Linked DNA regions of Homo sapiens: regions 2, 3, 4 and 5 are each linked to region 1. The links are contacts of gene promoters, found by promoter capture Hi-C in human tissues and cell types (Jung and others, 2019). All regions are on one chromosome and are shown on one strand. The core of a region is centred on a gene start or on the middle of the fragment in contact, and the rest is flanking DNA. Distances in the headings are between cores, read along the strand shown.

What was found. The method cuts DNA at HindIII sites, captures the fragments that hold promoters and counts their contacts. A contact is called where the count stands out against the background at its distance.
Region 2: a contact is called between a fragment that was not itself captured here and the fragment with the promoter of ADNP2 in region 1, in 2 of the 25 tissues and cell types used here (lymphoblastoid cells and spleen).
Region 3: a contact is called between a fragment that was not itself captured here and the fragment with the promoter of ADNP2 in region 1, in 3 of the 25 tissues and cell types used here (H1 embryonic stem cells, IMR-90 fibroblasts and lymphoblastoid cells).
Region 4: a contact is called between a fragment that was not itself captured here and the fragment with the promoter of ADNP2 in region 1, in 2 of the 25 tissues and cell types used here (dorsolateral prefrontal cortex and lymphoblastoid cells).
Region 5: a fragment that was not itself captured here is called in contact with the fragment with the promoter of ADNP2 in region 1 in 2 of the 25 tissues and cell types used here (IMR-90 fibroblasts and lymphoblastoid cells).

What each region holds. Positions count from the first base shown.
Region 1 is chr18:80,107,846-80,110,645 of GRCh38, reverse strand. ADNP2 (ADNP homeobox 2) reads right to left here and starts at 1,384. Exons shown (of 4, transcript NM_014913.4): 1 at 1,174-1,384. RefSeq lists silencers at 863-962, 1,163-1,322 and enhancers at 1,132-1,633, 2,460-2,800. The HindIII fragment of the contact is 8,526 bases long and covers 1-2,800 here.
Region 2 is chr18:79,690,842-79,693,641 of GRCh38, reverse strand. All of the region lies in intron 1 of CTDP1 (CTD phosphatase subunit 1), which reads right to left. Among named protein-coding and RNA genes, the nearest start is that of CTDP1, 12 kb to the right of the region's middle. The HindIII fragment of the contact is 5,479 bases long and covers 1-2,800 here.
Region 3 is chr18:79,744,031-79,746,830 of GRCh38, reverse strand. All of the region lies in intron 12 of CTDP1 (CTD phosphatase subunit 1), which reads right to left. Among named protein-coding and RNA genes, the nearest start is that of KCNG2, 53 kb to the left of the region's middle. The HindIII fragment of the contact is 5,894 bases long and covers 1-2,800 here.
Region 4 is chr18:79,777,798-79,780,597 of GRCh38, reverse strand. No RefSeq gene overlaps it. Among named protein-coding and RNA genes, the nearest start is that of KCNG2, 19 kb to the left of the region's middle. The HindIII fragment of the contact is 6,456 bases long and covers 1-2,800 here.
Region 5 is chr18:79,845,454-79,848,253 of GRCh38, reverse strand. All of the region lies in intron 1 of KCNG2 (potassium voltage-gated channel modifier subfamily G member 2), which reads right to left. Among named protein-coding and RNA genes, the nearest start is that of KCNG2, 49 kb to the right of the region's middle. The HindIII fragment of the contact is 7,338 bases long and covers 1-2,800 here.

The sequences.
Region 1 (2,800 bases), core at 135-2,634:
CGACTTCCAAATACAGCTGAACATGTACTTTACACAACTCTTTTTACATGTGGTCCTCTCTCCCACTAATGCTCCTCACCCCCAAAAATGGTACCCAGACTCCAAACCCCCTCTTTTGATAAAGGCTCTGCGTGGCAGATGCCCACAGTACTCTACAAACTGCTGCCCCACTTGCCAATCTGCATTGTCAGTTACCTGCTTACCAGTTTCTCCTCCCCCACCCCACTCCTCCACAGCCAGTATATTCCTCAAGATCCCAAGAGGCAGTGATTACCCGTGCAAATAGAGTAAGTTTTAAGCACGCAGGCAAGTCTTCTGTTCAAATAAACTACTTAAAATATCTAATTATTTCTCATTCTGCATCTGTACAGTATTTAAAAGGGCAGTTAAAATTAACATTCCAAAGTCAACTGTAGTAGAAATTTTGTAAACGGAATCTATTTCAATGCAACCAGCAACGGCAGATGAAAAGTAATGTTAAAGTCAACATCTGTATATCAATTATTGATATTCGCATCAAAAGCTCAACGATGAAGAAACAGGGCCCCGTTATCAGCTGTTCTTCAAACCTTTCTAGGGAAAAAAAAACCTGGGCAGATTTAGGTGTCACCGTCAGCTCCTGACCTACATCTGCCGTCACTCAAGGCTCCTCCAGAGAGAAGCTTCCAGGAGAACCCGGTCTCGGGGATGCGGCGGGCGGGCCAGCGGGCGGGGCGTTTCTGGAGTCCTTACAGGGGTCGCCACAGCTCCTTGCCCCCTCTCTTCTTCTCCATCCCCGTTCCCTCTCCCTCTACTCCTCGCTCCCTTCACCAGCCCCCCTCTCTCCCTCGGTCCCCGTCCTCGTCTTTCCCCTATTCCTACTCTCCCCTCAGGTCCCCATCCCCTTCTCCGCCCTCCCGGGGCGGCCCCCGCTCCCACGTGACCGGCGGCGGGCGGGGCGGGCCGCGGGCGCGTCGGGGGTCGACGGGCGCCGTTCGGGCCGCGAACCCGCGCCCTGAGAACGTCCCGGGATTCCCGAGGCGGCCACGGGCGGCGCGAGGGCAGGCGGCGGGCGTGGGTGTGGGCTGGGTACCGGCGGGGGCGGGGCTCGGAGGGGACCAGACTGGGGCGGGGGCCAGGACCGGGGCAGGGGGCGTCGCCGCGCGGGCCCGCGCCGGGCCGGGCCGTACCTACCGCTTGGCGCCCGAGGAGCACCGCGTCTCCGCTGCTGCCTCTCGCAGGGCTGCCGCGTCTTCCGCCGAGCGCAGCCGCGTCCCGTGGGGCCGCCTGCGCCCGCCCGCGCCTCCGCCCCGCGCGGCGGGACCCCCGCCTCAGCGCGCGCCCACCCCCAGCGCGACTGGTCCCCTCCTCCCGCGCAGCCAGAAAGAGAAAATGGCGCTCGATTGGCCTCAGGAAGTGACGTTGGCCCTCATTTGCATGTAGGCGCAGCCAGCCAATGAGAGCAGAGTGTGCTTGGGGGCCCCTGGCACTTCCCACAGGCCCCCCGGGGCCCCTGGCTAAAGATGGACTGGAGGCTCTGGGGTGGCAGTGGGGGGCCCCTGTTGGACCCCCTGACTCCCTTCTGTCCCAGGGAACTGCCCTGCCAGCTCCTTTCCACATCTGTGCAAACTCTCGTGAGAGTTTGAGTGGGCAATGACGTCACTAAAGGGGTGGGGAGAGTGTGTCATCAACCATGTGACTAATCACGTGGACTCACCACAGCTTTGACTTCATTTGCATGGAATGGGGTGGAGCTAGTGGCAGCTCCAGGAGTGGTGACCCCGCCCACATCTCAGAGCCAATGGGAGCCCAACTGTGATAATGCTGCCTTGCCATTGGAAGACAAAACTTTGGCTCCCAGAACTGGGACAAGTGTGCCATGATTGGCATATCCTGGTGAACCGACTAGCTGGGGTCTCCTGACTTCATCATTCCTGTGGGAAAGTGATCACACCTTCTCTTGAGAATTCTGATTTTTAGATCTACTACAAGTTGTGTGGGGAGAGGGTTAATTGCATACATTTGTATAAACTCTTAACCTAAAAGTTCATTTTTGCACAGGTGTTTATCAATTGTGTAGCAATAATAATTTATTCCACAAAATTAGTGGAAACATGGCGTAGGGCTTTCAAAATGGCTCTAGGTCTTCGTTCCGTGGAGTCCCCAGGCCTCTGGCGGACGCCCTCGTGCCCCAGAGCACGTGGGAGTAACCACGAGGGCAGCGCAGGCGCCTCCCCCAGTGCCCCTAACCTTAACCCTAATTCTGACCCTGCACCTGAACCTCACCTAGCACTAACCCTGACTCTGACCCTAACTCCCCTCCAGTGTTCCTTCCCCTGACCCTAACTCAGCCGCGCCCTCAGTGGCTGTTCCAGGCAGTTCCTTCTTGGCGAAGCCGTCTGCAGGACACGTGCCCCTTTCAGCACAAGGCCACGTCTCCTTCCAGAGCGCCGAGCCCCTGCAACCCGCCGCCAGCCTCCAGCCCTGAGGCCCACTCCAGCCACCGCGGGGCAGAGGCCGTGCCCAGGCTGGGCCTTCCGCCCACCGCCCTCTCCAGAGCCTCCTTGTCACCATCCGCTCGTCCATAATTTCAGCTTTTCCCTCTCAATGGGAGCCTTCTGCTCAGTTTAGCCCAGTGACTAAACACATAATAGGCACTAAATTAATGTCCATATTCGTTTTAAAACTGTGTTAAATGGTGGGCCGATATGACCTGACCAAAATTTGCTTTTTTCCTACATGAATACAAGTCATAATTGAAGTAGAGTTTGCCCTTTATGTTTGCTGACAAGTTAAGATTTTACTTTGAGTTACAGTGGTA
Region 2 (2,800 bases), core at 110-2,609, 420 kb after region 1:
CTCCGGGTCCTGGGCCTGTGCGTACACAGTGCATGTGCAACACAAATGGATTCCGCGTTTACTCACGTCCCATCCCCAAGACATCTCGTCATGTATACGTGCAAATATTCCAAAATCCAAAAAAACCCAGAAATCCAAAACACTTCTGTTTCCAAGCAGTTTGGATATGGGAGACTCAACCTGTATCAGGTTTTTTTCTTAAACCAGACAACAAAATAGTGACACCTTGTTTGAAAAAGTGTGTTAAACTTTCTAAGGTGACAAGTATGATTTCCTTAATTTTATCAAAATACTTTACAATGAATGATTAGAGTTCTGCCCTAAAATGCCCCAATGAGCAGAGACTTAACCTAAAAACCCAATCTCTGAAAAAAAACAAAAACAAAAACAAAAAAAACGCACAAACCCCACACTGGACCATCCTCCCTCCCGGTCACCACACCTGCTCAAAGACACTGCCAGGCTTCACAGGCCTCAGGGACACCTGCTCCCTGCTTGCTGAGGCCACAGGGGCCATCCCCGCCCAGGAGTCTGTGTCCCTACCGCCATCGCACTCGGGGCCTCCACATCCAGGCTCCTCTCCGATGCCTGGCAGCCCCCAACTCCCCGGCTGAGCTGTTTTCGTCCATCCACAGGGCTCTGCGGCCCCACCGCCAACACCCAAACCCAGTCCTCCCAATGGCCCCACGTCCTTTCCCTGGGCACTGCTCCCCCAGTCCTGGCAGCAACCCCACTTGGGAGCCCCAGCCCCTCTAACAGGCTTCCCTGGTCTCCAGCTGACATCATTTTGCAATCAGCCTTCTGCAAGGAAACTCTGCACAGCTCCTGCCCCACACAGGACACCAGCTCATGGCAGGCTCCTCATTCTACCCCCTGCCCCACACAGGACACCAGCTCACGGCGGGTTCCTTGCTCTACCCTCTGCCCCACGCAGGACACCAGCTCACGGCGGGCTCCTCGCTCTACCCCCTGCCCCATGCAAGACACCAGCTCACCGCGGGCTCCTCCTTGCTCTACCCCCTGCAAGGGGAAGAGAGGGAAAGGAATCCTCAAATATGAACTAGGAGGATTTTGCCAATCTCTCCTAAACATGTTAACATGAAGAAGGATCTGGGGTGGCTCTAGTTTAACCAATAAACAGGTGTTTTTTTGTAGAAATTGACAAGTTGCTTCTGAAATTTATATGGAAGTTCAGAAAACCTAGAATCTCAATTTTCAAAAATAACAGAGAACTTTTACTACCTGACTTCAGAACTTATCAGGCATACAACATAAACGCATGGAACAGAGGAGTCCAGAAAGACTCAAAGGTATGACCGACAGACGACCCACCAAGGTGCCCAGAAAACTCCATGGCGGGCGGGGGGCACCTTCCAGCCAGTGGGGCTTCACACAAATGGATCAACGGCTGACAAACGCCTGCAGAGTGTGTTCTGCAAAGGTTTTCTCCACTGTTCCCCACCCGGAGTCCACCCTGGGAGCCGTCCACTCCTCCCCACCCCGAGTCCACCCTGGGAGCCGTCCACTCTTCTCCCACCCCGAGTCCACCCTGGGAGCCGTCCACTCCTCCCCACCCCGAGTCCACCCTGGGAGCCGTCCACTCCTCCCCACCCCGAGTCCACCCTGGGAGCCGTCCACTCCTCCCCCACCCCGAGTCCACCCTGGGAGCCGTCCACTCCTCCCCCACCCCGAGTCCACCCTGGGAGCCGTCCACTCCTCCCCCACCCCAAGTCCACCCTGGGAGCCGTCCACTCCTCCCCCACCCCGAGTCCACCCTGGGAGCCGTCCACTCCTCCCCACCCCGAGTCCACCCTGGGAGCCGTCCACTCTTCTCCCACCCCGAGTCCACCCTGGGAGCCGTCCACTCCTCCCCACCCCGAGTCCACCCTGGGAGCCGTCCACTCCTCCCCCACCCCGAGTCCACCCTGGGAGCCGTCCACTCCTCCCCCACCCCGAGTCCACCCTGGGAGCCGTCCACTCCTCCCCACCCCGAGTCCACCCTGGGAGCCGTCCACTCCTCCCCACCCCGAGTCCACCCTGGGAGCCGTCCACTCCTCCCCCACCCCGAGTCCACCCTGGGAGCCGTCCACTCCTCCCCCACCCCGAGTCCACCCTGGGAGCCGTCCACTCCTCCCCACCCCGAGTCCACCCTGGGAGCTGTCCACTGTTCCCCAGCCCGAGTCCTGCCTGGGAAGCTGTGTGACCCGTCGCACATTGACACTAGGCTGCCACAAAGGACGGGGGCCTCCTGCTCCAAGGAAGGGCTGGTAGCAAGCCCAGGTGCCACCTGCCTTCCCCAGCACAGGTCTAAGAGCGAGTGTAAGCTGGCCCTGCTTCCCACAAACAGCCTCCCTTGGGCCACCAGCGCAGCCTGAGGTCTGAAGAAAGTTGACTATAAGCTGAGTCGGGTGCGCACTGCCTGCTGTCACCAACAGTGTAATACGAGTCAGACGAGAGCGACTGCAAGACGGAGGTGCCACCGGCAGATGACTACAGCAGATGCCTAGTTCTACACGAGGAAGGAAGCTTCTAGAACAGTGTCACAGCAGCTGTAACAGCTGGGTCTTGACAGACGAGTAGGAAGCAGGTGAGGGCTGGAAATGGCAACCACGCAAGGTCCCGGTGGCAGAGACAAGGCCGGCTCCTGACGCCAAGGGCACCTGCGCCCAGTGCACGCAGGCAGCACTCCGCAGGCTTCCAGCAACGTGACCAAACACAGGCCTTCGTAGAAAATCACTCGCATACTGGCCACGTCGGAGTCACGTAATTTTCTGTACTGCGGTTGAAAGGTTCTGACTGT
Region 3 (2,800 bases), core at 225-2,724, 360 kb after region 1:
TGGGCAACAAAGGAAGTCCCCATCTCTACAAAAAAATTTTAAAAACATTAGCCAGGCATGGTGGTGCGCACCTGTGGTCCTACCTACTTGGAAGGTTGAGGCGGGACGATCCCTTGAGCCCAGGAGTTCAAGCTTCCAGTGAGCCATGATCGTGCCACTGCACTCCAGCCCAGGCAACAGAGTGAGACCTTGTTTCTTAAGCCCCTAAGTATGGGGTGGGCAAGGCAGGGCCTCCTGACCTGTTCACAGTGACAGCAGTTGTCAAAACGCTCTCACTTTTCCAAGAGATGCAGTTTGTGTAGCTATGAAAACACGAAAAAGCAAACTTTCACAAACCAAAACTCCGCGTGCTATGTGAAGGGAGAACGAACACAACCTCCACCTCCGACACCCTCGAGTGGCAAACCCTGAAGAGACCGCAGAGTCAGAACACGCATGGGAGGGACGCACGGACAGAACGCGCATGGGAGGGACGCAGGGTCAGAACGCGCACGGGAGGGACGCGGGGACAGAACGCGCACGGGAGGGACGCAGGGACAGAACGCGCACGGGAGGGACGCGGGCACAGAACGCGCACGGGAGGGACGCGGGGTCAGAACGCGCACGGGAGGGACGCGGGGACAGAACCCGCACGGGAGGGACGCGGGGACAGAACGCGCACGGGAGGGACGCGGGGACAGAACGCGCACGGGAGGGACGCGGGGACAGAACGCGCACGGGAGGGACGCGGGGACAGAACGCGCACGGGAGGGACGCGGGCACAGAACGCGCACGGGAGGGACGCGGGCACAGAACGCGCACGGGAGGGACGCGGGCACAGAACGCGCACGGGAGGGACGCGGGCACAGAACGCGCACGGGAGGGACGCGGGCACAGAACGCGCACGGGAGGGACGCGGGCACAGAACGCGCACGGGAGGGACGCGGGGACAGAACGCGCACGGGAGGGACGCGGGGACAGAACCCGCACGGGAGGGACGCGGGGACAGAACGCGCACGGGAGGGACGCGGGGACAGAACGCGCACGGGAGGGACGCGGGGACAGAACGCGCACGGGAGGGACGCGGGGACAGAACGCGCACGGGAGGGACGCGGGCACAGAACGCGCACGGGAGGGACGCGGGCACAGAACGCGCACGGGAGGGACGCGGGCACAGAACGCGCACGGGAGGGACGCGGGCACAGAACGCGCACGGGAGGGACGCGGGCACAGAACGCGCACGGGAGGGACGCGGGCACAGAACGCGCACGGGAGGGACGCGGGGACAGAACGCGCACGGGAGGGACGCGGGGACAGAACCCGCACGGGAGGGACGCGGGGACAGAACGCGCACGGGAGGGACGCGGGGACAGAACGCGCACGGGAGGGACGCGGGGACAGAACGCGCACGGGAGGGACGCGGGGACAGAACGCGCACGGGAGGGACGCGGGGACAGAACGCGCACGGGAGGGACGCGGGCACAGAACGCGCACGGGAGGGACGCGGGCACAGAACGCGCACGGGAGGGACGCAGGGACAGAACGCGCACGGGAGGGACGCAGGGACAGAACGCGCACGGGAGGGACGCAGGGACAGAACGCGCATGGGAGGGACGCACAATCCAGTCAAACACGTATGTGTGCTGACCACTCATCTTCCCCACAAAAATTATCCATGCCACAGTCATTACAACTGCTTTGGAAAAGCCTGAAACTCACATGAACTTACATGTCGTGGGGACACCTCCTAATCCCAGGAGCACCTTCTGATTCCCCACCCCACTCTCAGGACCCACAAGTCTTTCCCATGGAGTGGCCTGGTACCCCTGCTGAGAGCCAGCTGGCCATGGACATGGGGCTGTTCTGGGATGGACACTCCTGCTCCACGGCCCAGCACACTGTCATCACACCAGCCTCCGTTACTCTGAAGCACGATGTGCGTCCTCTGGCCTGCTCTTCCTCAAGACCCTCCAGGGTCTCCTGCGTTCCTGTAAGAGCTTCAGGACTGGTCTGTGGCCCCTCCAGGGGCAGCATCCTCCCACGACGCCCCCCATGACTGAGTGGCGGGGGAACCTCCAAGGTCTCGCCATGGCCGCCTCTCCCTTTGCTTGTCAGTTTCTGCCACTGGTGAGTTGGTTCTCACTTCCGGTGCACATGTGCTAGCAACTGTCACTCTTCCCGATGGATCCAGCTCTTAGCATCGTAATTCCATCCGTTATCATTATAAAGCGTCCTTCTTTACCTGTAGAAGCATTCTTTGTTTAAATTCAGTCTTCTCTGATATTAGCGGAACACTCCAGCTTTCCTACGGTGATGGCCTCTGACCCAGTTGTCCATCCACTCATAGTTAAAGCTCTGAATCCCCTCACGTTCACACCGCCACTCTGCTTTGTTTCTCATGCCTCATGTAGTTTTAGTTCCTGTCTTCCCTTTTCTGTTTTCTTTTGCATTAAGTGAATACTGTCTAATGTAACATTTTGGTTCCTTTTGTGAACTCCAAGTATCTGTGTCAGGTCTCACTTAACTTAAAAAGTTTATTTTGCCAAGGTTGGGGTCACCTGCCTGTGACACGGCCTCAGGAGGGCCTGACATGTGCCTGAGGTGGTCGGGGCACGGCTCTGTTTTACACATTTTAGGGAGACATGAGACATGAAAGAACATATGTAAGATGAACACTGGTTCACTCTGGAAAGGTGGGACAGCTGGAACCAGGGAGGGACTTCCAGGTCACAGGTAGACAAGAGACAAATGGCTGCATCCTCCTGAGTTTCTGATCAGCCTCTCCAAAGGAGGCCATCAGATCTGCACCTGTCTCAGTGAG
Region 4 (2,800 bases), core at 184-2,683, 330 kb after region 1:
GTCCCAGTCCGGGAAGCCCCTGACTAGCATTAAAGGGCAGCCTCTGGAGGGTGAGGTCAGCAGGGTCTAAGATGCAGGAAGCAAAGTCCTGGCTGGACCAGGGCGGACAGTGTGCACCCGGCCAGCACTGATGTTCACAGGGCAGCCTCTGGAGGGTGAGGTCAGCAGGGTCTAAGATGCAGGAAGCAAAGTCCTGGCTGGACCAGGGCGGACAGTGTGCACCCGGCCAGCACTGATGTTCACAGGGCAGCCTCTGGAGGGTGAGGTCAGCAGGGTCTAAGATGCAGGAAGCAAAGTCCTGGCTGGTCCAGGGCGGACAGTGTGCACCCGGCCAGCACTGATGTTCACAGGGCAGCCTCTGGAGGGTGAGGTCAGCAGGGTCTAAGATGCAGGAAGCAAAGTCCTGGCTGGACCAGGGCGGACAGTGTGCACCCGGCCAGCACTGATGTTCACAGGGGTCGCTGCTTCTTCCTCACCAAGGCTGGATCTGGGGTGCTCCTTCCCAATCCTCTGGCTTCTTCAGTGCCCAGAGCTGAGTCCTCTCAGGCCACGGCCAGTGTCTGTGCTTGGCCTTCCCAGACGGCCTCTGGCTCCGGATTCTGGTGCCAGGTCAGGGCGGGCCCGCCCACACTTTGCACAGGTGACCCCTTCCTTTTGTAAAGACCCACTTGGATTTCCTCTCCTGTGCGTCCCCTCCGACCTCCGGCCTCCGACCTCCCAGTCTGGGCCTGTGTGCGGGGGAGTGACGTCAGTTATTTTTCTTGCCCTAAACCGCCCTTCTCATAGGACCAGCACCTCCCTTTGGAAATCACTTCTTCTCCATCAAACCACACGTTTTCAGTGGCAGAGGACTGTGATTGGCCCAAGGATGGCTGACAAAGGCTTTTAAACCACGGCGGAGGCTGAGGCCCCGGGCTTTGGAGTCTGTGCAGGGACCTGACAACGTGCACTCCATGATGGAGTCTTCCGATGGCCACACTGCCTTGCGCGCCCCTGGGGGGCTCGTGGGCGGTGTGCGTTGGGTGATGACCAGGCAGATGCTTCCGTTTGGGGCCAGGGGCTCGGCCAGGCCGGCAGGGCGGCTGCTGGCTGCAGGCATTCTGCAACGTGGGCGCTGTTCCAGAGGGCTTTACTGTTGAAGGGGGTGTGGGCTGTTGCAACCCACCCACAGCACTTTTCTCAAGAGTTGTGAGAACTCGAAATTAAGCCACACACGTATTTTCAGAGCCCATGGCGAGTGATCGGCCCACCGACCCCACGTGACTGAACGGGAGAATGGCTGGGAACGTGTCATCCTGTTTTCCTCCAAGCCGAGGGGGATGTGGATCTCTTAAGACAACAACCACTCCGCACGCTGCACGTGGGGCCGGGTCCAGGAATAATCTTTTAAAAGGCACATATGTATTTATAATGTAATATATGCAAACAAATTTAAGTTCCTATGCGCGTGGGTGTCATATTTGTATCTTTTTCTGTTGCTGAAATGGAAAACCACAGCTAAATACATACATCTGTAGCTTATGCTGTCTTCAGCATACACCTTTTTTTAATACCTGATCTCTTTGACATACTTCACATAACAGATTTTTTAAAGACAACGAACTTTGGAACAAGAACCCCTTATTGTTACTCTGTGTGCTGTTCTGATGAAGGTCCTCAGGTTTTCTTCTCTCTCTTTACCTTCTGTTCTCAGACAGCTCCTGGGAGCTGCAGCCCTGAGGAGGCTTTATCTCTGGACACTTGTTTTTGCACTGGGGGGTCCGGGGCCGCCCCACCCCTCACTGTCTGACTAAACCACACAGAAGGTTAAGCAGCAAATTCGAGGCTCCCTCCTCAGAGATGCCTTTTTAAGAAAGACCCAGTGTACTCAGGCTGAGATCAGAGCCCCTGGGCCAGGCGGCCGCGAGTGCTTCTTGGAGCCGGTGAGCACAGACTTGGCGTCGTGAGATCGTGGAGCAGGCCTCTCCCTCTGCATCGGGGCTCAGGGCTCAGCAGGGACAGGGAGCACACAGCGGCTCCCCGCACGGCAGCAGGGCAACCACGACGACTCCAGTGCAGAGAGCGTGGCCTCGGCCTCAGCCTCCGGCCCCTGCACGGCCTGTCAGCTGTGTGGACTCCTAGTCATGTAAGAGTTGGAGAGTCAGGAATCCGGGAAGAAGAGCTCACGCCCCCTGCCCTCCTCTGGGCAGACCTGGAGCTGCTAATGCTTCAACATGCTCGTGCCTCAAGGGAGCACCACCCCGGCCTCGGCAGTGATGAGGCTGCCCAGCCGCACGGGGAGGCCACGGACCAGAGGTCACAGAGGGCAAGGCTGTGGCGAGCAGGAGAAATGAGAACCACCTGGGGCAGGAGTTTCTCAAATCAGGAAGGGACAGGAGCATGGAGGAAGAAGAGCGGGAACTTGCAGAAAAAGAACCAAAGACAGACACAGCTGCAGACAGGTTTCGCCTCTGCATGCAGGTGCACAGCCTTTTCATTCCTGTCTTCATATTAAATATCGTTTTCCCAGGCTATCCAACCCAGAGGACAGCTAACACCCGAATGTGAACGGCTGTGCAGTGTGAGGCTCACCTACACGGCACAGACCCCACCAACACTCCCCAAAATATCCACCACTCTCGGAAGTCTACAAGTCCCACTTGAATTTTTTTAGATAACCTCATTTCCTGCTGCCTTCCCAACTGTGTGGGAGCCATTCAATACGATGGCTGTCACCGTCCTCCAGGACAGTCCTCCACCCTAGAGCTGTCTCAACCCTCCAGGACAGTCCTCCATCCTAGAGCTGTCTCAATCCTTCAGC
Region 5 (2,800 bases), core at 218-2,717, 260 kb after region 1:
TATAACATTTCCTTCCAAGCAAAAGGCAAACCCTACTTAGAAGCATATGCGTCACCATTAGCCTCAGGGATCGAGGACAGATGAGGTTGGCGTTCATCACTGGCCCCTGGCAGCTGCTGAGCCCACGCTAGGGTTTCAGACATTCTGCCTTCACCGGGAGAAGCTCTGCAAGTTCGCTGTGCTCAGGGCCCCAGGTCAGGGTCCATGCACCGCACCCCATCCCTCACTCCCTGTTTGCCCAGGATTCCCCCCTGCCAATCCACTCCTTCAGTCCCAAGGAAAACAGTGACTATTTTGTTTAAATCTGGCTAAATACACATACATAAATGAAATGGACTCTCAAGCAGTTTAAATTAAATTGTGGCTTAACTGGACCACAAGTTTAGTGCCTCGGGCATTGTGTCACCACCATCCCTGATCATGAGCCCGGCCCAGGGGACACGTGGCCCCACTGCCGCCAGCAAGCCAGGTGCCAGCCTCCAGGATGCCAGAGCAAGTGCGGTTCTACATGCAACATGAGTGTGTGTCACCGGGAAAAGCTGCAACTGCCACTACCCAGAGTATCAGGATTTTTCAAATGTAATCAATAAGGAGAAGTCACTGGGATATAATAATATTTACCATTCTGAGTTAAAATTAGAATCTCTGTACATGCTTATTACATACATGGATGAGGGCTCATGGGGCGGGTGCTTTGCAGTTAGTGGGGCTGTTAATCTACATGAGCAAGACCCACCAAGGCTTCCACAGGGAGCGTGGTCCGCACTGCCGGGTAAAGATCGCTTAGCGTGGTTTCCAGACCAGGGCTTCTCGACTGGGATCCACTGCGACCCTCAGTTCCCACGGGGCACCTGGCAATGTCCAGGTTTTGATTGTCTTGACTGGGGATGCTCCTGGCATGGAGGCATGGAGGCCAGGGATACTGTTCAACACCCACAGTGCCCAGGATGGCTCCCAGCAAAGCTATCCGACCCCAAACGTCCACAGTTCCAGACGGAGAAGCCCCACATCCCAAGGCACCTGGGGGACCTTGTACGAGGCCAGGAGGGCTGACATCCGAGGAGGAGCAAAGCAAGGAGGAAGCTCAGAGGATTTTTCACTGAAGCTCAGAAGCCAACTGTTCAGGACTTAAAGCATTTGTCATGCAGTAGATGTTGCCAGATAATCCAGCCATTGCAGATAAATGCTTTCATCAGCCGCTGCCTGCCTCTGTTCTGGCATCTTCACAAATTTGGTTCAGGTGTCACTTACCTTCCCCATGTCTTCTTACCACCGGCTGCCCTGTGGCCAAACGAGTTCGTTTGCAGGAAATGAGACCCTTGCGACCTACACACACCTTTCAGGAAGACTATTCTAGGCTCCTCAGTGGGGCCTTCATCCAGATGCACACTTTGCCTTTCAGCTGGAACTGTTAACCTCGGCGGTGACACGGGTTCACAAACAGGGCCATGCGACAACTGGAAAAACCATCTAAACAAGATGACTTCTTCAACCAATCAGTGAGCATACGACTGCAGCTGAGAACTGTCTAAAATACAATGTATCTAACTTCAGTTCCAGGCTAATATTTAGTGTGCCAATGAATTTTTTATTTTTCAATTCTTACTTGTCCTATCAAGAAAAACATTAGATGAATTAAGACTATAATCACCCATGGGTTAAAAAAAGCCAAACATAAATAATTTTGAATAAAATATGACTCAGGAGATTTTTGTTGTAAACTAAAGATGAGTAATATTAGCATCATTCCTGTAATCTCTTTCTGATACACATATGAGTTCACATGTGAGTCTCAACTATTTTGATTTGAAATACTTTTATTTTCTTTCTTTTTTTTTTCTGAGACAGAGTCTCACTCTTTTTTTTTTTTTTTTTTTTTGAGACGGAGTCTCGCTCTGTTGCCCAGGCTGGACTGCAGTGGCACACGATCTCAGCTCACTGCAAGCTCCACCTCCCAAGTTCACGCCATTCTCCTGCCTCAGCCTCCCAAGTAGCTGGGACTACAGGCGCCCGCCACCACGCCTGGCCAATTTTTTGTATTTTTTAGTAGAGACAGGGTTTCACCATGTTCGCCAGGATGGTCTTGATCTCCTGACCTTGTGATCCACCTGCCTCGGCCTCCCAAAGTGCTGGGATTACAGGCGTGAGCCACCGCGCCCAGCCAAGACAGAGTCTCACTCTTTCGCCCAGGCTGGAGTGCAGTGGCGCCATCTCAGGTCACTGCAAGCTCCACCTCCTGGGTTCACGCCATTCTCCTGCCTCAGCCTCCCGAGTAGCTGGGACTACAGGGGCCCGCCACTACGCCTGGCTAATTTTTTCTTTGTATTTTTTAGTAGAGACGGGGTTTCACTGTATTAGCCAGGATGATCTCAATCTCCTGACCTCATGATCCGCCTGCCTCGGCCTCCCAAAGTGCTGGGATTACAGGCGTGAGCCACTGCGCCCAGCCACTTTTATTTTCTATATGCCAAAGTTCCATAAATTATAAAGGGGTTTTATTTTTCATAAATACACACGTGTATAAAATGAAGTATATAAGATCTAATTAGCAAGGTTTTGGTTCTGTTCAGAAGAGAACTTGCTAATGAGATCCATTTTTAGCCATGTTTTTGACTGAGAAATTGACAATTATTTTTCAATTATGATTTATGGGACACAATCTCCAAGTCTATAATACACATAGAAATTTGGTAATTAATAACTCTTATCCACAAAGCAGGGTATGTACAGTACAGCTGCATATAATTGCTCCAAAAAGTTTCAAAATCAAATTTTGAGGTAATTGCAGATTCACATGCAG